7 separate regions of the Homo sapiens genome follow, and all the other regions are linked to region 2. Evidence: promoter capture Hi-C in 16 types of primary human blood cells and fetal thymus (Javierre and others, 2016). All regions are on one chromosome and are shown on one strand. The core of a region is centred on a gene start or on the middle of the fragment in contact, and the rest is flanking DNA. Distances in the headings are between cores, read along the strand shown. Region 1 overlaps LOC105378808 (a long non-coding RNA gene). Region 2 holds the start of ACADM (acyl-CoA dehydrogenase medium chain). Region 3 overlaps PIGK (phosphatidylinositol glycan anchor biosynthesis class K). Region 4 overlaps LRRIQ3 (leucine rich repeats and IQ motif containing 3). Region 5 overlaps PIGK (phosphatidylinositol glycan anchor biosynthesis class K). Region 6 overlaps AK5 (adenylate kinase 5). Region 7 overlaps ZZZ3 (zinc finger ZZ-type containing 3).

The links. The method cuts DNA at HindIII sites, captures the fragments that hold promoters and counts their contacts. A CHiCAGO score of 5 or more calls a contact.
Region 1: a fragment that was not itself captured here is called in contact with the fragment with the promoter of ACADM in region 2 in 3 of 17 cell types (fetal thymus, activated CD4 T cells and non-activated CD4 T cells); the score reaches 8.6 in fetal thymus.
Region 3: a fragment that was not itself captured here is called in contact with the fragment with the promoter of ACADM in region 2 in 1 of 17 cell types (activated CD4 T cells); the score reaches 5.1 in activated CD4 T cells.
Region 4: a contact is called between a fragment that was not itself captured here and the fragment with the promoter of ACADM in region 2, in 1 of 17 cell types (M2 macrophages). The highest score is 6.7, in M2 macrophages.
Region 5: a fragment that was not itself captured here is called in contact with the fragment with the promoter of ACADM in region 2 in 3 of 17 cell types (fetal thymus, M0 macrophages and monocytes); the score reaches 5.8 in fetal thymus.
Region 6: a contact is called between a fragment that was not itself captured here and the fragment with the promoter of ACADM in region 2, in 1 of 17 cell types (activated CD4 T cells). The highest score is 5.6, in activated CD4 T cells.
Region 7: a fragment that was not itself captured here is called in contact with the fragment with the promoter of ACADM in region 2 in 4 of 17 cell types (total CD4 T cells, total B cells, naive B cells and 1 more); the score reaches 6.9 in total CD4 T cells.

Annotation. Positions count from the first base shown.
Region 1 is chr1:77,220,887-77,224,291 of GRCh38, forward strand. It overlaps LOC105378808 (a long non-coding RNA gene), which reads left to right. Exons shown (of 3, transcript XR_001738109.2): 2 at 1-107. Among named protein-coding and RNA genes, the nearest start is that of PIGK, 3.2 kb to the left of the region's middle. The HindIII fragment of the contact is 4,293 bases long and covers 1-3,405 here.
Region 2 is chr1:75,722,950-75,726,206 of GRCh38, forward strand. It overlaps ACADM (acyl-CoA dehydrogenase medium chain), which reads left to right and starts at 1,760. Exons shown (of 12, transcript NM_000016.6): 1 at 1,760-1,868. The coding sequence starts at 1,839. It also overlaps a transcript of SLC44A5 not described here. RefSeq lists enhancers at 1,146-1,235, 1,886-1,975 and silencers at 1,606-1,655, 1,706-1,755. The HindIII fragment of the contact is 3,396 bases long and covers 1-2,256 here.
Region 3 is chr1:77,164,339-77,167,394 of GRCh38, forward strand. PIGK (phosphatidylinositol glycan anchor biosynthesis class K) reads right to left here. Exons shown (of 11, transcript NM_005482.3): 5 at 2,381-2,492. Among named protein-coding and RNA genes, the nearest start is that of PIGK, 54 kb to the right of the region's middle. The HindIII fragment of the contact is 760 bases long and covers 963-1,722 here.
Region 4 is chr1:74,187,718-74,190,763 of GRCh38, forward strand. The region is part of intron 1 of LRRIQ3 (leucine rich repeats and IQ motif containing 3); the gene reads right to left. Among named protein-coding and RNA genes, the nearest start is that of LRRIQ3, 8.9 kb to the right of the region's middle. The HindIII fragment of the contact is 8,734 bases long and covers 1-3,046 here.
Region 5 is chr1:77,204,419-77,207,367 of GRCh38, forward strand. PIGK (phosphatidylinositol glycan anchor biosynthesis class K) reads right to left here. Exons shown (of 11, transcript NM_005482.3): 3 at 2,222-2,313. Among named protein-coding and RNA genes, the nearest start is that of PIGK, 14 kb to the right of the region's middle. The HindIII fragment of the contact is 1,009 bases long and covers 1,192-2,200 here.
Region 6 is chr1:77,533,621-77,536,913 of GRCh38, forward strand. It overlaps AK5 (adenylate kinase 5), which reads left to right. Exons shown (of 14, transcript NM_174858.3): 13 at 2,227-2,418. Among named protein-coding and RNA genes, the nearest start is that of ZZZ3, 150 kb to the right of the region's middle. The HindIII fragment of the contact is 3,479 bases long and covers 1-3,293 here.
Region 7 is chr1:77,663,053-77,666,212 of GRCh38, forward strand. The region is part of intron 1 of ZZZ3 (zinc finger ZZ-type containing 3); the gene reads right to left. Among named protein-coding and RNA genes, the nearest start is that of ZZZ3, 18 kb to the right of the region's middle. The HindIII fragment of the contact is 7,724 bases long and covers 1-3,160 here.

The DNA of each region.
Region 1 (3,405 bases), core at 369-2,868, 1.5 Mb after region 2:
ACTCATTGACTGTGAGCAGCCTTGTGGAAGAATGCCTTGAAGACCATAAGCAGGATAGGGAATAGGTTTGCACATCTCTTGCCTGAATCACTGAATTTTTACAAAAGGTAAGTTTGGTGATCCTAGCCCTTGCCTCTTCCTGTACATAAGATAATGTCTGACAAGATTAATGATTATGCCTCAAATTCATGACCAGATGTAACTTCATACCCACACTTTGATGAGACTTTACTTGTATTAACCCATTTTCATACTGCTATGAAGAAATACCCAAGACTGCATAATTTCTAAAGAAAAAGGCTTAGTGGACTCACAGTTCCACATGGCTGGGGAAGCCTCACAATCATGGTAGAAGATGAAGAAGGAGCAAAGGCACATCTTACATGGCAGCAGGTGAGAGAGCATGTGCAGAGGAACTACCCTTTATAAAACCATCAGAGGCCAGGTGCAGTGGCTCACACCTGTAATCCTAGCACTTTGGGAGGCCGAGGCAGGCAGATCATCTGAGGTCAGGCATTCAAGACCAGCCTGGCCAACATGGCAAAACCCCATGTTTCAAAATTAGCTCAGTGTGGGGGCACATGCCTGTAATACCAGCTACTAGGGAGGCTGAGGCAGGAGAATCGCTTGAACCTGGGAGGCAGAGGTTGCAGTGAGCCAAGATCACGCTACTGTACTCCAGCCTGGGCAACAGAGCCAGACTTTGTCTCAAAAAATAAAATGAAATAAAATAAAAATAAATAAATAGATAGATAAATAAAACCATCAGAGCTCGTGAGAACTCACTACCATGACAACATGAGGGTAACTGATCCCATAATTAAATTACTTCCCATCAGGTCCCTCCCTTGACACTTGGGGATTATGGGAGCTACAATTCAAGATGAGATTTGGGTTGGGACACAGCCAAACCATATCATTCCACCCTGGCCCCTCCAAAATCTCCTGTCCTCACATTTCAAAAGCAATCATGCCTTACCAGCAGTCCCCCAAAGTCTTAACTCATTTCAGCATTAACTCAAAAGTCTACAGTCCAAAGTCTCATCTGAGACAAGGCAAGTCCCTTCTGCCTATGAGCTTGTAAAATCATAAGCAAGTTAAGTTACTTCCTAAATACAATGGGGGTACAAGCATTGGGTAAATACACCCATTCCAAATGGGAGAAATAGGCCAAAATGAAGGGACTACAGGGCCCATGCAAGTCCAAAATCCAGCAGGGCAGTCAAATCTTAAAGCTCCAAAATGATCTGCTTTGACTCCGTGTCTCACATCCAGTTCACGTTGATACAAGAGGTAGGTTGCCATGGTCTTGGGCAGCTCTGCCCCTGTGGCTTTGCAAGATACAGCCTCCTTCCCAGCTGCTTTAACAGGCTGGCATTGAGTGTCTCTGGCTTTCCCAGGCATATGCTGCAAGCTGTTGGTGGATCTACCATCCTGGGGTCTGGAGGATGGTGGCCCTCTTCTCACAGCTCCACTAGGCACTGCCCCAGTGGGGACTCTGTGTGGGGGATCCCACCCCACATTTCCCTTCTGCATTGCCCTTCTGCCTTAGCAGAGGTCGTGCATGAGGGCCCTGCCCCTGCAGCACACCTCTGCCTGAACATCCGGGTGTTTCCATACATCCTCTGAAATCTAGGCAGGGTTCCCAAACCTCAATTCTTGACTTCCGTGCACCCACAGTCCCAATATCACATGTGAGCAGCCTGAGACTGCACAAAGCAGCAAGGCCCTGGGCCCAGCCCATAAACCCATTTTTCCTCCTTGGCCTCCTGGCTTGTGATGAGAGGGACTTCCAGGAAGACCTCTTACATGCCCTGGAGACATTTTTCCCATTGTCGTGGTAATTAACATGTGGCTTCTTGTTACTTATGCAAATTTCTGCAGCAGGCTTGAATTTCTCCGCAAAAAATGGGTTTTTCTTTTCTATCACGTCATCAGGCTGCAAGTTTTCCTTTTATGCTCTGCTTCCTCTTGAACGCTTTGCCACTTAGAAATTTCTTCCCTCAGGTACCCTAAATCATCTCTCTAAAGTTCAAAGTTCCACAGATAACTAGGGCAGGGGCAAAATGCCACCAGTCTCTTTGCTAAAGCATAGCAAGAGTGACCTTTATTCCATTTCCCAACAAGTTCCTCATCTCCATCTGAGACCACCTCAGCCTGGACTTCTTTGTCCGTATCCCTATTAGCCTTCTGATCAAAGCCATTCAACAAGTCTCTAGGAAGTTCCAAACTTTCCTACATCTTTCTGTCTTCTGAGCCCTCCAAGTCTCTAGGAAGTTCCAGAGTTTCCCACATTTTCCTGTCTTCTTCTGAGCCCTCCAAACTGTTCCAACCTCTGCCTGTTACCCTGTTCCAAAGTTGCTTCAACATTTTCTGTTAACCTTATAGCAGAGCCCCACTACCTCAGTTCCAATTTACTGTATTAGTCCATTTTCATACTACTGTGAAGAAATAGCCAAGACTGGGTAATTTATAAAGAAAAAGAGGTTCAGTGGACTCACAGTTCCACATGGCTGGGGAGGCCTCACAATCGTGACAGAAGGCAAAGGAGGAGCAAAGACACATCTTACCTGGCAGCAAGGCAAGAGAGAGAGCATGTGCGGAGGAACTGCCCTTTATGAAACCATCAGATTTCCTGAGATTTATTCACTATCATGAGACCAGCAGGGGAAAAACTTGCCCCCATGATTAAATTACTTCCCACCGGGTCCTACCATTGACACATGGGGATTATGGGAGCTACAATTCAAGATGAGATTTGAGTGGGGACACAGCCAAACCATGTCATTAATGTAATTTCTGAGCACATTTGATGTAACTTCTTAACACATGCAGAGCAACCACCACCTATGTTTAAGCTATGGGGTGAATCAATGCTTTGCAGCAATATAACAAACTCTTTGAAAGATTCTCCCAGGTTGCAGTACTCAGTAGGACTTCTGAATAAAATTAACTTTAATTATTTAAAAGCCTGTTTTTTTTTCTTTAGTTGACATAACATACCAGGATATTGTAGCTGGAAATACATAGGAGGTTCTTGCTCTCACGAACCTTACATTCCAGTAAGGAAAACAGACAATAAGAAAAAAGAAAAATGAATACAATAAATTCTCATGGTGATACAAATAAGGTAAGATGACAGAAACTGAAGGGAGAGGGAGACACTACTTCAGTGAGGTGGTCAGTGAAAACCTCTCTGCAAAGGTGGTGTGAAATCTGAGACCTGAATGACAAGAAAGAACTAGCGATGCAAACATCTGCGGGTGGCACATTTCTAATATTTATTTTTTACTAGTTTTATTTTGTGTTAATTTTACGTTTAACTATCTGGAATATATTTTGGTACAGGAGTCCCCCTTATCCAAGGGGGATATGTATCAAGCCCCCCAGTGGATACCTGAAATC
Region 2 (3,257 bases), core at 510-3,009:
CATGCTTATACTGGTCCAAGGAAGCATTAGGCCATAGCCTGTTTTCTTCCTTATCTGGAGGTGTTTTTACCTTTCTCAGCATTCCACAAGTTGCTTCCTCCTTCCTTTGTTCTCCTCTGTCTTTGCCTCTTTTGGAAAGTTCTAAGTTGCTAGCCAATCAGGACAAGTACAGAGGTCCCCTTCCAGCCAATGGAAACCGGACACGGTAGTAGGGTGCACGTGTCAGGTTATAAATGACCCTGTCTCCTTTATGCGTGTGTGCTCTCGTGGCAAGACTACTAGCGAGCGGCAACCTTTCTGCAGAAAGTAAACTAGCCTTGCTAAGAGCTCCTTTGTCTCAGTGTTGATTTTTGCAACACTGAGCGCCCGTTCCCAACATCAGTAAGGCTTTTCTTTTTAATGAAAAGCAGCCCCAAATCCTTTTCTAAGAGCAGCCTGTGAAGTCGAGCTGCAGGCACAGACAAACAAGGGGGTAGCTTGCTTGGGTGAATGGTGGCAGGAACTACCGACTAGACATGTTTAAGATGAGGGCTCCATCTTCGCTTCTCTGCCAGCCACGTGTACAGTAAGAAGGGGTTACAATAGGCATATGGGTGATTTTGTGCTTTTCGTTCATCTTTTCTGTGTTTAAAATGTTCAGAATAAGAAATTGGAACAAAGGAGACATGAATAGACAATTCCTAATCATCTTTAAGAGTCCGCTTTGTGTTTTACTTACCACCACCACTTTGAAGGCTTTCTTGCCTATACCAGGACAAACTCAGCTCTTTATCCCTTTTCCGAATTTTCCTGGTACTTTCACTTTGAATATAGCGCTTAATTAACATTCTGCCTTGTACCTAGGACTAACACACTATAAATTCCCAGAAGACAAAGTAGGGGAATACAATAACAGGATATAGAATTTTAACAGCTAAATTAGATGAATTTATGGGTGACCTTTATTGGGCAAAAGAAAATGTTAAGTTAGTATAAGATTTAGTATAAGCTACCATCTCAAAACTCAGGGTCTCACTGGAAGAGAAAGTGACTCCAGGTAGAATTCCTCAGGGAGACATTCACTTCCATCATTCGCTGAACCAGGAGCTTTGGACAGCCTCGGATTGCACCCGCATATCCAAGGACACCACATCAGCGGACAAGTCATAAACAGCCTTGGGAATACGCGGAAAGGTCAAATTTACCTAAACAATTAAATTCTCTTTTAAATTTTAAGGAAACACAAGTATGCTTTCGCTTTAGGTAGGGCATTTGAGAGCAAAATGTACTAATACTTTGAATCCGCCAAGCAGACACGATCTGGGTTTGACCGTTCTCTCCGGGTAAAGGTGAAGGCTGACCACGGGGGCCGCTCTCCCTCCAGGCCCCAGCCACGCCCTCTAACCCAGGTTCCCGTCCTGCACCGCGCCGCAAGTCCCCCCACCGTTCAGCGCAACCGGGCCCTCCCAGCCCCGCCGCCGTCCCCCTCCCCCGCCCTGGCTCTCTTTCCGCGCTGCGGTCAGCCTCGGCGTCCCACAGAGAGGGCCAGAGGTGGAAACGCAGAAAACCAAACCAGGACTATCAGAGATTGCCCGGAGAGGGGATGCGACCCCTCCCCAGGTCGCAGCGACGGCGCACGCAAGGGTCACGGAGCATGCGTTGGCTACCCGGCGCCGGGGACCGCTGCCACCCCGCCTAGCGCAGCGCCCCGTCCTTCCGCAGCCCAACCGCCTCTTCCCGCCCCGCCCCATCCCGCCCACGGGCTCCAGTGGGCGGGACCAGAGGAGTCCCGCGTTCGGGGAGTATGTCAAGGCCGTGACCCGTGTATTATTGTCCGAGTGGCCGGAACGGGAGCCAACATGGCAGCGGGGTTCGGGCGATGCTGCAGGGTGAGAGGGAGCCCAGCGGTGCGGTGGGGCTGGAACATGGGTATTGTGGTGTCGGAGCAGGGGGCCCTGGGCCAAAAATAGGTGCGGCCGGGAGGAGTGGGAAGTCGGGCTGAGGAAGGAGCCAGCCTAGGGGCCCCCAACCTGCTTTCACGCCTCCTACCACCGGACGGAACGTAGCCTAGCGTTTCATTTTCCGTATCCTCCCGTCAGGCGACCCCGTTATAGCCGGCATCCTCTCTTTAGAATATCGTTTTTCTTTCTCTGGTAAACCCTCCAAATATTTACCGCGGGAATCCCACCTTTTTCCAAAGTGACCCCGTCTCTGTGTCAGAACCACGGGAAAAAGAAAAATGGAGCAGCTACTCCTTGAAATACTTAATGTTTAATAAGCTTTTCGTTGTAACGTTTCCACGTTGCTTACGGGAAAAAAAAAAGTAAAAAAAAAACCTGCAGAATTTTATGTGAACTTGTGTGTATATTCTAGTATTGGATCTTAATAGATTCTAAATAAGTTTGTCACTAGATGAATTTTGGTATCTTAAATATTCTTGATATGTTCACACCACTGCCATTTAGATGTCACTTAAAATTAAGTTAAAGTTATGTCTTGGACCAAAAAAGCTGCGGTTTTAGAATAATCCTAAAGAATTGCTGCCCATGTTTTGCTGGTGTTATGCAAGTTAATGTGCAGTGAAGGCAGAAATTGGGAGATTTCAGCTATTTTTAACTCCTACACCAGAAAAGCAGATTTCTCAACCTCCAAGGAAGGATCTAAAAAAAACCTGATATAGAAAACTTACACCCTTTTTCTCTTCTTTAACCCATAAAACTGACACTCTTATATTCCCAAGAAATGCACAAAAGTGTTCAATTCTAGTGGTGCTGTTTCGATATTTGGAATTTCATTGTTCTAGACAGAGAGCCCGAAGTAATAAAACCAATAGTTATATAGCATTAGGCTTTCAAAACATTATCGTACTTTAATCGTCCGAAAATACGCAGTGAGATTAGTCCCATTTTTTGGTTTTGAACGGAAGCTATAAGCAGTTTGTAAACCTGTCTACGGCCACAAATATGGTTGTGGAACCTAGATTCACATTCAGCAATTATAACTCCAGATCCCGTGCTGTTTCTGTTTTCTATTTGCAAACCACCTCTCTAATTAACTGGCTAACTTTGTTATGTAATTAACAGGTTGATGGGCATTGTATTCTGGTAATAGCAACCTTTGCACTTTGTTCTATGTAACATATTTTCCTGAACAGTCACATGTGAAGTGACTTTTTCCCTATTTAAATTCCCTCGGTTGGCCAGGTGCGGCGGCTCACGGTTGTGATCCTAGCACCTTGGGAGGCCTCGGCGGGTTGATCACTTAAGGCCAGGAGTTCG
Region 3 (3,056 bases), core at 93-2,592, 1.4 Mb after region 2:
TGTGCTATTTGTATGCAATCTAGAGGCAGGTTGCCTGGATTCAAATGGTAACTATGCCATGTTAGTTTAGGAAAATAATTTAATATTTCTATGCTTCAGTTTCCTCAGCCATAAAGTGAGAAATGTATCTGCAACACTATCATTAGCTTACTTATACAGTTGCTTTGCACAGGTTTTTAAAAGGTACTTTCAACTGGGCATGAAAGTAGAAAAAAAAAACTAGTCTCCTCACCTTCCTCTTGGATACATGCAGCCCTGCAGGCTTACAAGTGGTTAGTTGACTATGCCTTTGTGGGAGAAAAAAGTATCCCTCCCTTCCATTAGAATACAACCCTGTGGTAGGGCAGATCGCTTAGTAAGTGTAAGCACATACGAGATTTCAGTTCCCACTTAACACCCTGGCCAGATTCTTGGGTGCACTATACAACCCACACAACCACATACAGCAACCTTGAATATCGGCACCTAAGTCAATGCACTGCTGTGAGAATGAAATGAGTTAATAGCCACAATGATTTAGAATACTGCCTGACGTATACTATGCCTCCATAAATATTATTATCATATTATCATAATTATCAACGTTTTTATTCTCTTACAGACCCTGGCAACCTTCTACAAAAGATCAGGTAGTAAATATTTTTGGCTTGTGAGCCATATTGTCTCTAGCACAACTACTGAACTCTGCTGTGGTAGTATGGAAGCAGTCACAGAAACTGTGTAAACCAAATGGATGCAACTGTGTTTCAATAAAACTTCCAAAACAGGCAGCCAGTTCACAGGCCATAGTTTATCAAATCCTATCTTCAACTACTGGAATTTGTTCCAAGCCTGCAGTTACCCTGAAAGAGTTCCAACAGAATCAGGAAACAAACAAAAAATAATAATAATAAATCCTTTAGTTTAGTACATCAAATAAAGCTAAGCTACAAAAAACTGCACTTCATCTTGTTTGCCATAAAAGCTTGAAAATTCCTTGTAATTTTCAGATAAAGTAAAATAAAATTTTTCCTGGCTTCATTAACTCTATTGAGTTAATTTATAAAGTTTATAAATTAAGCCTTGAAAGTTATAAATAAATGCAACACGATAGAGAAAAGCCACTAAGTAGGGGTCATTAACTATGTTGACATGTGATATCTAAGAATCATTCTGCACCTGCTTTATCATCAGTTGAATGGAATGCCCTCCAAAAAATTTATAGAACATCTTTTGATTAACATCCATATTTACCGAATACTACTACAAGACAGGCAACTGGTGATAAAAAAAAAAAAAAGCAAGAAATATATAATCAATGACATCTTGGAATTCAAAATACAGTGAAGGCAACAGATACCCAAACAATAAAGTAATAGTAAGTTAAATGCTATGAAAGAAACTAAAAATTAACATGGGCATGCACAGAGGAAAGTCCAGACCAGCCAAGGAGAAGAGAAATATCTTTAGATAAGAAAAATGTAAGCTGTGTTATTCATACCAATTCTGAAGGAGAAAGCAGAAACTATTAATAATAACACTGGGACAACAGGTGTAAACTACAACTGTCCCAGGTAATTGGAAACATCAGTCACCCTAGACTTAGAAAGGAAGTCATGGAAGGGAGTGACTCCTGAGCTAAAACTAAAACCATATGGAATAATCAAGCAGGCAAAGTGGACTGAAAAGACGTCATAAGCAAATGCAAGAGCTTAAACAAATGTTTGAAGGACAGAACATTCAAGCTTGGAAGAGAATTAGAAAAAGTATTAAGAACTAAGACAAACTAAATAATATAGCTAAATCATTACATATATTATTATGTGTAATACATATGATAACTATATTATATTATGGTACACTTTATCTCCAATATTCCTCAAAGTATAATCAAAAGACTACTGTATCTCATATCTGAGGAGTATATCCACAATGCAATTTCATGAATCCCAACCCAGATGAAAATTAAGTAAGAATTCTAAAATAAGGCCTAAGTATCTACAGTTGGTAATCTTCATGTACAGCAAAATTTGAGATGGAAAACCATTATAAAGTTTTAAGCAGAAGAGGGACAGATTTGCAATTTCTATTAGACACTTTCACAGGATGATTAGCAGGAGAACAAAACTGAAGGATGCTGTAGCAGGATACCAAGCAAAAGGTGCTAAGTTTACCAAGTCAATAGTAAAAAAATATAGAGATAAGAAAATCAGGAACAGCACAAAATGTTATACTGTTTTCAGATATCATCTCAAATAGTTCTACATTATGGAAAATATAACTACATGAGAAACCATTTTAACCAAAAATCATTTCACGTGTTTAAATTTCTTTCCATTTGCCTTTCTTTTCAAAGAGTTTCAATATACTCTACTATAAAAACTCTAAATTATGAAATTACCTGTCATATAAATTAGAATATTGCTTCTGTCATCAGAAAGAAGACGTTTTGACCGAGGAGTACTAGGTGGGATCCTCCCAGTTAATACCCGTAAAAAATTCTCCACAGTTACCTAAGGGGGAAAAAACAAGAAAAATCAGATGAAATAAAACCTGGGAAATCTTGACAAATTACTTTTTACTTTCAAAAATGTTCATTGTTCTTTCTCCATATATTACTCAGCACCAACTGAAAATAAAACACCCAAAAATTATATAACTCAATTAAAATATATTCATTTAAACATATACCTCCAAGTAACTTTGTTACTATTTTTAAAAGTACTAAAAACTAACAAAGAAGGCAGGCCATGGTGGCTCATGCCTATCAACTCAGCACTTTGTGAGGCAAGGCAAGAGGACTGCTTGTGGGCAGGAGTTCAAGATCAGCCTAAGCAACATAGTGAGACCCCATTTCTATGCACACACACAAAAAATGTTTAAAATAGCCAGGTATGGTAACATGCTCCTGTAGTTCTAGCTACTCAGAAGGCTGAGGCAGAAGGCTCATTTGAGCCCAGGAGTTCACCACTGCACTCCAGCCTGGGCAAGAGAGCAAGACTATGTCTCTTAGAAAAAAACAAAAAACAAAAACAAGCAAAGTAAAACTACCTTGGAGAAAAATAAGTTCTGAATTT
Region 4 (3,046 bases), core at 343-2,842, 1.5 Mb before region 2:
ACCCCAACAACTATTGAAATAAAAATTAAAAAACAACAAAAAAAGTCAAAAAATAACAGATGCTGGTGATGTGGAGAAAAAGGAACGCTTATACATTGTTGGTGGGAGTGTAAATTAGTTCAACCATTGTGGAAGACAGTGTGGCAATTTCCCAAAGACCTAAAAACAGAAACAACATTTGACCCAGCAATCCCATTACTGGGTATATACCTAAAGCAATAAAAATTGTTCTATTATAAAGACACATATACGTATGTTCACTGCACCACTATTCACAATAGCAAACACATGGAATCAACCTAAATGCCCATAAATGGTAGACTGGATAAAGAAAATGTGGTACATTTACACCATGGAATACTATACAACCATAAAAAGAATGAGATCATGTCCTTTACAGGAACATGGATAAAGCTGGAGGATATTATCCTCAGCAAAAAAATGCAGGGATAGAAAACCAAATACTGCATTTTCTCCCTTATATGTGGAAGCTAAATTATGAAAACACATGGACACATAAAGGGGAACAACACACTGGGGCCTACTAGAGGGAGGAGAGTGGGAGGAGGGAGAGGATTAAGAAAAATAACTAATGGGCACTAGGCTTAACACCTGGGTGACTAAATCAATTGTACAACAAATTACCCTGAAACAAGATTACCTATGTATCAAACCTGTACATCTATCCCTGAACTTAAAGCAAAAATTTAAAAAATCCAAACTATTAAGAACCCTGGCTTCTTAGTTAATGAAATGTGCTAACCTGCTATCTTAGGATGTTACACTTCTCTCTCAGTGTAACCTTCTTTGGCAAATTATTGTCTAGTCATTATTTAGACTCTGATTCTATCCACACATCCCCAATTTAGTGATTACATATTTATATATGTTATTATTTAATGGCCCTGTTTTCCACTAAATTATATGTACCCTGTGAACAGAAAACTTGTTTTATGGTTAGGTAGTTTTTCAAATTTTTCCATAGGACCTGAACTAGAACTGAGTCAGGTTTCAATAAATGTCTCTTTCATACACATGTCTGTCTTTTCCTTTCCTCAGAGAAACAGCAAACTATGGGGAAGGAACCTGTAAAAGACTTCTAAGTACAAATGACAAAGTCTCTCCCATTTCGGTAGAAATCTATTGTAAATTCCTTTATTTTTAATTCTCCACAGCCAATAATCACTTGCAAAACAACAAAAAAGGTTTATTTTTCAATTATTTATGTAGTGTAACAAATCACTCCAAAATTTATTGGCTTAAAATAACCATCATTTTGTTACTCTGAAGATTCTGTGTGTTGACTCAGTTGAAGTAAGCAGTTCTCCAACTGACAGTGGCTGAAGCATCAGTTAGTTCACTCCTCCAGTGAACTGCTGGAAGGTTAGGTTCAGCTGGAATGCTGAGATGAACCAGTCTTTCTTTCCATACTGTCTCAGGACCTCTCTATGTTGACCTGTCCTCTCCATGTCATCTATCCATGTGTGTCTGAAATAGGGTAGCCAGACTTTCTACATGCTTAAGGGCTCCCAAAGCATAAAAGCAGAACCTGTCCAAACTTCCTAAGGCTTAGGTTCAACTGAAGCGTCTCCTCAGCCACATTCTACTGGTTACGACAAGTTCATTTTATTTTTCAAGCACCCTATAAACTAAGTACAGAAAAAGGAAATGAAATGTAAGTTGTTCTGAGATTGGTGATCTCAAGTAAATTATGTATGCTGTGCCTCAGTTTCCTTATCTGTAAAAAGAAGATAATAATAACAGCCCATAGAATTTTTATGAGGACGAAATAAGTCAACCTAAAGGGTTTAGAACAGTGTTTGGCACTTAATGATATGGTTGGGCTGTGTCCCCACCCAAATCTCATCTTAATTGTAGCTCCCATAATTTCCACTTGCTGTGGGAGAGACCCAGTGGGAGATAATTGAATGATGGTGGCAGTTTTCTCCATACCGTTCTTGTGGTAGTGAATAAGTCTCATGAGAGCTGATGGTTTTATAAGGGGAAACCCCTTTTTCTTTGTTCTCATTCTCTCTTGTCTGCTGCCATGTAAGATGTGACTTCCACCTTCTACCACGATTCTGAGGCCTCCCCAGCCACATGGAACTGTGAGTCCACTGAGCCTCTTTTTCTTTATAAATTACCCGGTGTTGAGTGTGTCTTTATCAGCAGCATGAAAACAGACTAATACAGTAAGCACTACAAAATTAATTGAATGCCTAGTTCCATTAACAATTCAAGATAAAATATATGCTTCAAAAAGTGTATCAAGGGACCTGCAGTTTCCAGTATGGCATGTAAGGAGCTTGGAGTAGTCACTCCATCCTAACAACACATTAGAAAGCTGAACAAACTAAAAATCAACAACTTTTCTTAGCTACACAAAGTAAGGTCATAGGGTAAACTGCTGACCACAAAATTGGAGCAACAGACAGGCAGTACAGAAACTCATCAGGAACAGACACACAGATGTCAGGGATGTTGGAAATATCAGACTGGGAATTGAAAACAACTAGGATTAATATGCTAATGGCTCTAATAGAAAAAGTAGGCAACATACAAGAACAAATGGATAATGTAGGTAGAGAGATAGATATTCTAAGAAAGAATAAAAAAGAAATGGTAGAGACCAAAAACATTATAACAGAAATGAAGAATACCTTTGAAGGGCTCATTAGTAGATGGGACATGACTGATAAAAGAATCTCTGACTTTGAGGATATGTCAACAAAAACATTCAAAACTAAAAACCAAAGAGAAAAAAAAAGACTGAAAAAAAACATAACATTCCAGAAGTGTGGGACTTCTAAATGTGTAACATACGTGTAATAAAAATGCCAAAAAAGGAAAAATAGAAAGGAATAAAAGCAGTATTTAAAACAATAATGAATGACAATTTACTCTAACATCGGACACTAAGCCACAGATTCAAGAAACAGAGAACATCATGTAGGATAAATGTAAGAAAATAAAAAAAAAACAACCTCACACCTAGATAATTAATATACAAACTTCAGAAAATCAAAGGTAAAAAAAAAATCTTGGA
Region 5 (2,949 bases), core at 446-2,945, 1.5 Mb after region 2:
GCAATTCTAATTTCACCCTGGTCCTGTGATCTCACTCTGCCCCCATTTGCCATGTGATATTTTATTGCCCTTGAAGCATGTGATCTCTGTGACCCACACCCTATTCGTACACCCCTTCCCTTTTGAAATCCATAATAAAAACTTGCTGGTTTTGCGGCTCAGGGGGAATCATAGAACCTGCCGACATGTGATGTCTCCCCTGGACATCCAGCTTTAAAATTTCTCCCTTTTGTACTCTTTCCCTTTATTTCTCAGACCGGCCGACACTTAGGAAAAATAGAAAAGAACCTACGTTGAAATATCAGGGGCTGATTCCCCTGATATTCTAACACTAGACTAACAAAATTTAGGGGATATAAATATTTTACTTTTAAAATACAAACTGTGTTTGCTTTGCACAACTGATAAAATATTTCCAAATCATACATTTATTTATTTACCCAATACTAGCTGAGCAGAATCTTTTCTATTGATTTCTATTTATTAAATAACAAATGGCTTAAATCACCAACTGTTTAAATCCTTAATTACCCCACTACAAAGACTTCATAAACACAGTTATAGATAAGCAATTATTTGAAACAGAAATAAGCTTTTAAATAACATTCTTCAGAAACCTAAGGACAAACCTACTAAACATAATATACAAAATACATCCTATTGCTATTGTCTATTCCTAAAAACTCCTTCCAAATCTAACTTAAATCATTTAAATATATCTTAATGATTGACTCATAGAAGAAAGATTAATTTACCAAAGAAAAACTATTGCCAAGCCATGCATAGTGATTCTCTAGAAGAGTATATCCAGTATAGACGCAAGAGCCGTTAAAGACCAAAAGCTAACTACATAGGCCTATTTGAGAAAAACCAATTGACAAATGACAAGAATTATATCTATACACTTGATATAACAAATCAACCTCCTTCTCAGACTTAATGTAATTTTAAAATAGTAATATTATCTAGTTGCCATGATTTCCAGATGAAATATGGAAATTATAGTTTTGTCAGTTACTCAGACTGAAATGATCTATTCACAAAGACTGTAATATAACTTTGTTTCCTCAGTCATTCACTGCTTCCTTTCTGTTCCTGCAGCACTTTATGCATAACTCTTATTTGTTTTTACTGGAAGTACTTGAATCCTGAAAGAAGGTACTATTATTACCATGTAACAAATGAGAAACAAGCTTATTATGGTAAAGTGACTTAAAGAAAAATCACCATTAAAGCCAGATTTCAAAGTCATATCTAACTACAAGGCTCTTTCCACACTGACTCACTGGTACTAAATAAATCAAACCTAAATAACTGAATTGACTACAGTTTCTTGCTATAGCTGCTTTGGTAGTAGGAAAAACAAATCTATCATGGACAAAACAATGTAGAAGACATGCTCTGAGTGAAGGTGTGGGGATACCGCCTATTACCTAAACTCACTCCCTACAAGTAGGAAAATTCCCACTTTACGAGTCTTCATATAAAGCAAAGCCCACCTTCCTATATAGAGGCTAATAATGCCATATACTAGCTCTTCCAGTCACCCTGCAGCACAGACATGGGTGCTGAACCTAGACTTTACCAATATAACATTCCCACCAAGACCTCTATAAGAGAGACAGTAAGAAGTTGGGACAGCAAAGTTCAAATTTTGGCAGCAGGAGGCAATAGCAACATTAAGTTTCAAAAGGAAACAAACAGTAGCAGCTATGCAGTAGCTGAGTCTAGGCTTCAGCAATTTGCAGCTCCATTATTGTCACCAGACTGTTTTAGGTCATTTTTTTGCTATGTCTCTTCTAATATCTAGGCTTCCTTGTTCCTGGCTATTAAAGGATACAACCTTCTCACTAATTTGGCAAGGTAATCAATATGCTTTCAATAAATCCCTTTTCCACTTGAATCAATCAGAATTGCACTCCATTATCTGCAATTAAAAACCCTGACTGAGCCATTTACTAATTAAATACATTACACTAAATAATTATATTTTATCCAATCTTTTTACCTTAGCATTTGTTCTTTTATATAATTTGTCATTATGGTCTTAAGTAACATCTAATTTATACATGGTAGTATGCTCTAATGAGAACAAAAAATCTTCAAATCAGATTTTTTTTTTTACCTTTTTCAAAAGTAACACAAAATACAAATATAATAACAATTATCTAAGGGTTATTTTCACTGAAGTTCAAGGTTAAGCTTTATTAAGGCTTCTTACCTGTCAGGAATACCTAGCCTCTTGACACTTCTATAAACAGAAAGGGTATTTGCAACATGTCGATAATTAAACCAGAATCGGGATGTACACACCTGAAGTATTAAAACAAAAACAGAATTTTTATGCATCAAGGCTAACCATGGAGCTGCAGAGTATTTTTCTTTAAGTAGGATACAGAGATCTCTAAGAAACAGTATGCCATAATTCAGGCTTTAAAACAGCAAACACAAAAAATTGTCAGTAAAGGCCAGGCACAGTGGCTCATGCCTGTAATACCAACACTTTGGGAAGCCCAGGCGGGAAGATCACTTGGGTCCAGGAGTTCGAGACCAGCCTGGCCAACATGGCAAAACCCCACCTCTACTAAAAATACAAAAATTACCCAGGTGTGGTGGCGTGCACCTGTAGTTGCAGCTACTTGGGAGGCTGAGGCATGAGAATCGCTTAAACCTGGGAGGTGGAGGTTGCAGGGAGTGGAGATGGCACCACTGCACTCCAGCCTTGTCGACAGAGCAAGACTCTGTCTCAACAAAAAAAGAATTGTCAGTAAAACTAATCGCTCCAAAGAGAAGTCTTTCATAACTAGTATTAGATTTTAAAAAACCATTCAGCTTAAGAGAAAGCATATCTTTGGGAAATTAAATCAAATACTGAACCAACTTAGTTATCACAATTTCTGTGACTCAGTAACATTCCTATTTCTAAAAAATTAAATTCTTTAGAATCAA
Region 6 (3,293 bases), core at 459-2,958, 1.8 Mb after region 2:
GCCACACTTTGGGAATCAGTGTGGAAGAAAAAGCTACCTCTCTGCCCCGTGCTTATTTTGGTCTAAAAGGTCATTTGCTGCCGGCTCCTGCTCAGTGACATATAATCTCTGTTTGTACCTGTGTCCCTGAATTATCTTTCCTGTCCCCACAAATGGCCTGAAAATAACCCCACAATTGGAAAAATCGCCTGGCTGTCTCATGCAACCCTAACCCAAAGTTGTTTCAGGGAGAACATTAAGCCGCCTCCCAAGCTCGCCCTCTGCTGGTGAACAAGGGTCATTTTTTTCCTAAACCCTCACCCAGCCTTTCTTGCTGCACAAATGCTCTTTTTTTTTTTCCTTCCAATTAATACAGACAGAAAAGTCGCATGACCTATTCCAGAGGTTTATTGCACTGTTGTCGATTTTGGAGAATGTTTCCACTCTGTTCCTTAAAGTACACCCCTCAGAGGAGGTAGATAAATGTTTGACCAACACTGTCTGGCAACTCACGATATTACGAGTTCTCCGTGTTGCCTAAACATCCTCTTCTTGACTGAACTTTGTTCTCATCCCACCCCACACACTTTCTACAGTGGTGGCAAGCCTTCATTTACTCACAGCTCGAATGTGGCAAGGTCAGGGGGAGTAATGGTTTCCTCTGATCCAGGGTTGGAGGAGGATGCAAAGTAAGCATGTCCCAGAGACAAAAGAACATTTAAGAGAAGGATATGGAGATGGGGAGACTCATAACACAGATCATACCACCATCACTCATTCATTAAAACATTTCTTCATCACCTACTGTGTGCAAGACTTGGGACTAGGAGCAGAGAATTCTTAATCCCTGCACACGGGGAACCTAAGCCTCATAGAGGAAATAAGCGTAACAGTGAATCGTTAGTGAGTGTCTGCTGTATGCCAAGGAGCATACGTATGTTACCTTATTTAATTTTATTTCATCCTCACAGCAATCCTATGATCATCCTCATTGTATGAATGAGAAGACTCAGATGCAGAGAAGTTGAGTCAGACTTCTAGTTAATGAGGAAGTCAGTTTAAATGAACAATATGTAAGTCTGGCACAGTGGCATGTGTGTGTAGCCCCAGCTACTCCGGAAGCTGAGGCAAGAGGATCACTTGAGTTCAGGAGTTCAAGACTGTATAGTGCACTATAATTATGCCATGAATAGCCATTGCACTCCAGCCTGGGCATCAGAGCGAGACCCCATCTCTTACAAAAGAAAAGAAAATAAAAACTTTAAAGAACAATTTGTTATTATCTCTCGTGGTTCTGGAAGTTATGGGGCTCAGCGGGCTGGTTCTCACTTGGGGTTCCTTATGCAATTGCACTCAGACAGTGGCTGGGGCTGAGATCCATGTCTGGAGCCAGGGCTGGGATATCTAAAACAGTTGGGGGCTGGTAGGGCATCTCCGTCCACATGGCCTCTCCACATGGCTAACTTGGGCTTCCTCTCAGCCTGGCAGTCTCAGGATAGTTGGACATCTTAGATGGCAGCGGACTCCCCACTGCAGCAAGTGTTCCACAAAACCAGACAGAAACTGCAAACTTTCTTGTGACCTAGACTCTAAAAGCATGGACATTATTTCCGCTACAGTCTGTTGGTCAAAATAGTTACAGGTCAGATTCAAGGTGTTTCTGTGTCTCAGTGGGAGAGTAGCTTACAAGTAAAGTGAGATAACGAATTGATGAAGCCCATCCTGGAGACAAGTCATGACACCAGGGTTTGACCCTAAGCAGCCTGATTCCAGCCTCTGTGTGCTAAAGCATTATGCCCCACTCACCTGACACAGTACAGGCACAGCCACAGAATGCCACCTGTGGCTGTTATATCACGGTGGCTTGAAGGAGAAGTGATTAGCTGTGCCTCAGGTGGTCAGGAAAGGCTTCACATTAGAGGAAACACCCCCTCACACATACATACTCCTTTCTTCTCAGTGCAGAAGAAGACAGACAGTGGCTGCAGTGGGTGGCATATACTCGTCTGCATCACGTGAGGTGGCCTAAAAGCTGAGGGCAAGAGACAGCTCTGAGGCAGTGTGTAGAAGGGAACTGACCTGGAAGGGGGGAGCTATGGAGTCCAGTCCCAGCTGCACCATAGTGTAATGCTGGGACCTTGAAGGGAACCAGAAGGCCAAGAAAGGAAAAACCAGAGGCCCTGGGCCTTTCCAGAACATCAGCAGGGTGAGGTTTCTGACTGTGTTGTGCTCCACTCCCATCTCCAGATTGGAGACCCACAGTTGGTGATCTGTATGGACTGCTCGGCAGACACCATGACCAACCGCCTTCTCCAAAGGAGCCGGAGCAGCCTGCCTGTGGACGACACCACCAAGACCATCGCCAAGCGCCTAGAAGCCTACTACCGAGCGTCCATCCCCGTGATCGCCTACTACGAGACAAAAACACAGCTACACAAGGCGAGTCACTTCACTTTCTCCTCTGAAATGAGCCGCTTACCTTTTTTTTTTTTTTCCAAGAAAAGAGAAAAAGCTGAGAACATTTTAGTTAAGGGATCTGGGAATTAGAACTCTGTGCAGCTGCAGCACTGGGGCCAAAAGGCCCAGCACAGTGGCTTATGCCTGTAATCCCAACACTGTGGGAAGTCAAGGCGGGTGTATTGCTTGAGCCCAGGAGTTCAAGACCAGCCTAAGCAACATAGTGAGACCCCTGCCTCTGCAAAAAATTAGCTGGGTATGGTGGCACATGCCTATAATCCCAGCTACTCAAGAGGCTGACGTGGGAGGATTGCTTGAGCCCCAGAGGTGGAGGCTGTAGTGAGCTGAGATTGTGCCACTACACTCCAGCCTGGGCAACAGAGCAAGACCCTGTCTCAAAGAAAACAACAACAAGAATTTGGACCAAATTATGAATCCCTTACTCTTCACTTCTATTTCAATCAAAATTAAATATCTGTCGTCATATAGACCATAAAAAGGTGGTCATATAATTTTCACAGATCCCCTTATAGTTGCTGAAAACAACTCCTTTTTCCCAAAAAAGAGAGAGAGGGAGAGAGGAAGGGAAGAAGGCAGGGAGGGAGGGAGGCATAGATGAGACGTAGGCTCTGCCACTGACTCTGGACTGTGAGATTATTCACTAGAGCTAAGATTCAATGACTTTGAATTTCTATAATTTTACATCGTTCACAATTGGCTCTTGGCTCCTTTGCCTCAATTTCTTGTGATAACCAACATTTTTAGAAGAAGCTGCATATGGGGCCAGGAGAGCAGGTAATTAAGTAAAACAATGAAGATAGTGTGAGGAAATGAGTGTATCAACCTAGTGATCATGA
Region 7 (3,160 bases), core at 392-2,891, 1.9 Mb after region 2:
CATGATCACGCTACTGCACTCCAGGCTGGGTAACACAGTGAGACCCGGTCTCAAAAAAAAAATTAATAAAAAAAAAAATTTGACTAACTGTTCCAGATTAAAGGAGACTGGAGAGACATGAAATCAAATGCAATGTATGATCTTCGATTTTAAAAAGCTATAAAAATAATTATTAGGATAATTGAAAAAATTTGATTGTGGACTGTAAATTAGATAATGGTATTAATGTTAAGTTTCCTAATTTTGATCACTGTAACTGCAGTTAAGAGAATATCTTAGTTCTCAGAAAAAAAAAGTCTGGTGGTATCCTGGATCTAATTCTACCCTGTAGAACAACTCATTACAGCCCTGCATTACCTGAAAACAACTGTCCCCTTCCCTCCTTCACTCATTCCTGTCAAGTCTTCCTTCTCCACAATAAGCACTCTCAATTCCTTCAAAGGTTCTCATGGGTTACCCTCCTCTTGACATATCTATCTTTTCATTTACTTTTCTTAAAGTGTAGCTTTCAGAAATAAGGCCAACATTGTAAATGTGTCCTAACCAACATGGAATGAATATCATATCCCTTATTATGGACAAAATCCTATTACTGCAGCCTGGTACTTCATTTGTTTTTTCTTTTTTAAGCAACTCACCAGTTGGATGTCTGAGACTATATAAAACTAAACTCCTAATAATATACAATCAGTAAACCCTATTTTTTTTTTTTTGAGACGGAGTTTCGCTTTTGTTGCCCAGGCTGGAGTGCAATGGCGCGATCTTGGCTCACCGCAACCCTCCACCTCCCGGGTTCAAGCGATTCTCCTGCCTTAGCCTCCTGAGTAGCTGGGATTACAGGTGCGTGCCACCACGCCTGGCTAATTTTTGCATTTTTAGTAGAGACGGGGTTTCATCATATTGGTCAGGCTGGTCTCGAATTCCTGACCTCAGGTGATCCGCCCGCCTCAGCCTCCCAAAATGTTGGGATTACAGGTGTGAGCCATGGCACCCGGCTAATAAACCCTACTTATTCTATCACCAAAATGTCTTGGAAAAAAAAAAAAACAAACTATCTACTCTTTCTGTTCTATTGTTATTGCTCCAGCTCAGGCCATCATCATTCTATTTAAACAACTGTAGTAGCCTAATTAATCTCTCATTCCAATTTACTCTTTATTTGCCCACAAATATATCTGTCTTAATAAACACTGTCCTGAATCTGATTTTTCAGTACCTTAAAGAAGAATGGGGAGGGAAAGAAAGGAGATGACTTTCTCCCCTCTTCAATTCCTAGAAAACTCTTATTCCTCAAAGGCCAATTCAATGATCCATCAGAATTAACTACTCTCTCCTTTGCTCCCATAATGCTTAATAATCCTATCATAAAATTACAATGTATAGTTTGATATATCTATATTCCCCATTCAATTATAGGCTCCTCGAAGGAATAGAGCAATACATTTTTTATTCTCTTAGTACATACAGTGCCTTAACATTAATTGAACAAAATTTTACTCATGTAATTTTTTCTATCTGAATTCCATATTTTTTTAATTCCACACTTTTAAGCAGCTCACACTATAGGTTTCTGCCTGTAGTTTCAGACAGAACTTACAAGTTGTTTTAGTTATCCTTGCCAGCTAAATTGTTCTGACATTTTATAAGCACAACTGTACATTTATTCAAAACATTAATGAAAATATTAAAAATGGACAACAAAAAGTACCTTTTTAGATACTTCTCTCAAAGTCTGACATTAATTCCTTCTAACAGTATTTAAGAAAGTTTATTTTACACTATTAATGAAATGTTCTTAATGCTGATGAGCTAAGCCTGTACTTCTCTGCCTCTTCTCCAAGGCATACCTAGGAAAACAATCTCCAAAACTACTGGTTTCCTTTTTAAAAATAAGACCTTATGCTGTTTCTAGTCTTCTGGCATACTTTTTGTTACAACAAATTAACAAAAGCTATCAATACCTCTCAGTTCCTTAATGTCTTTAAATGATCTAAAACCTGTGCTATCAGCCAGACAGAAAATGGATTCCTGGAATCCAATCAAGTGGTGAAATAATCTGGGTGAGGTTTACAAAACTTGATCTGGCAATAGAGTTAAAAAGCAATTACAAAACAATTACAAAAGGTCTTAAACTTCAATTCAGAAGAAACCAACATCAACTTAGAGTTCCACTGTTACCATACAGACAATTTTTACTGACAGTTCATTATGTCCATCTGTGACATGAGAAAAACCACCTAGACAAAGACAGCTTCCAAGGCCAATGTCAAGCTGATAAACAGCCTGTCAAGAGATGGTAACTGAACTGTGGACATAAAGTATGTCACAGGAATCTCAACTTGCTGAAGACAGCAAAACTGTTCCCGAAGGTAAGTGACTGCCCAACGTCCATGATTAATTAGAATATTGAAATTACGTATATCAAACTCATGATACTAATACTGTGTGGTTTAAAACTATCCTAAATATTTTTAAGTTCCTATAGACAATGATAGTTTCTAAATTTAAAATAGTAACTGACTTCACGCTTATGATTTTAAGTTTAAAAGTGTATGAATATTTAGCTTGGTTAATAAGAATACTGGAATGTTTAAGAAAATTTGTGATTCACTGTCTCATTCATTAAATTTAAAATTTTTATATTTACCAATTATAACTCAATAAAGCTAGAGAAAATATAAAATTTTAAAGTTTTAAAGTATTTGGGAAGCCAGGTGTGGTGGCTCATACCTGTAATCCCAGCACTTTGGGAGGCCGAGGCGGGCGGATCACCTGACGTCAGAGTTCAAGACCAGCCTGGCCAACATGGCAAAACCCAGTCTCCACTAAGATAAAAAAATCAGCCAGGCGTGGTGGCACACGCCTGTAATCTCCGCTACTCAAGAGGCTGAGGCAGGAGAATCGCTTGAACCCAGAAGGCGGAGGGTGCCGTGAGCCGAGATTGCGCCAGTACACTCCAGCCTGGGAGAGACAGCGAGACTCCATCTCAAAAATAAATAAAGTATTTGGGAAAATCCTACTTGTTGAAATTTACTCCACAAGGAATAGTGCTTAAAACTAAAACAGTATATCAAACGTATATACGGAATGTAATTAAGTTAAGCAGCAGTAGCAGTGGTAATAGCTAATATTCACACTGCAATGTTCCTAGGGCTCACAA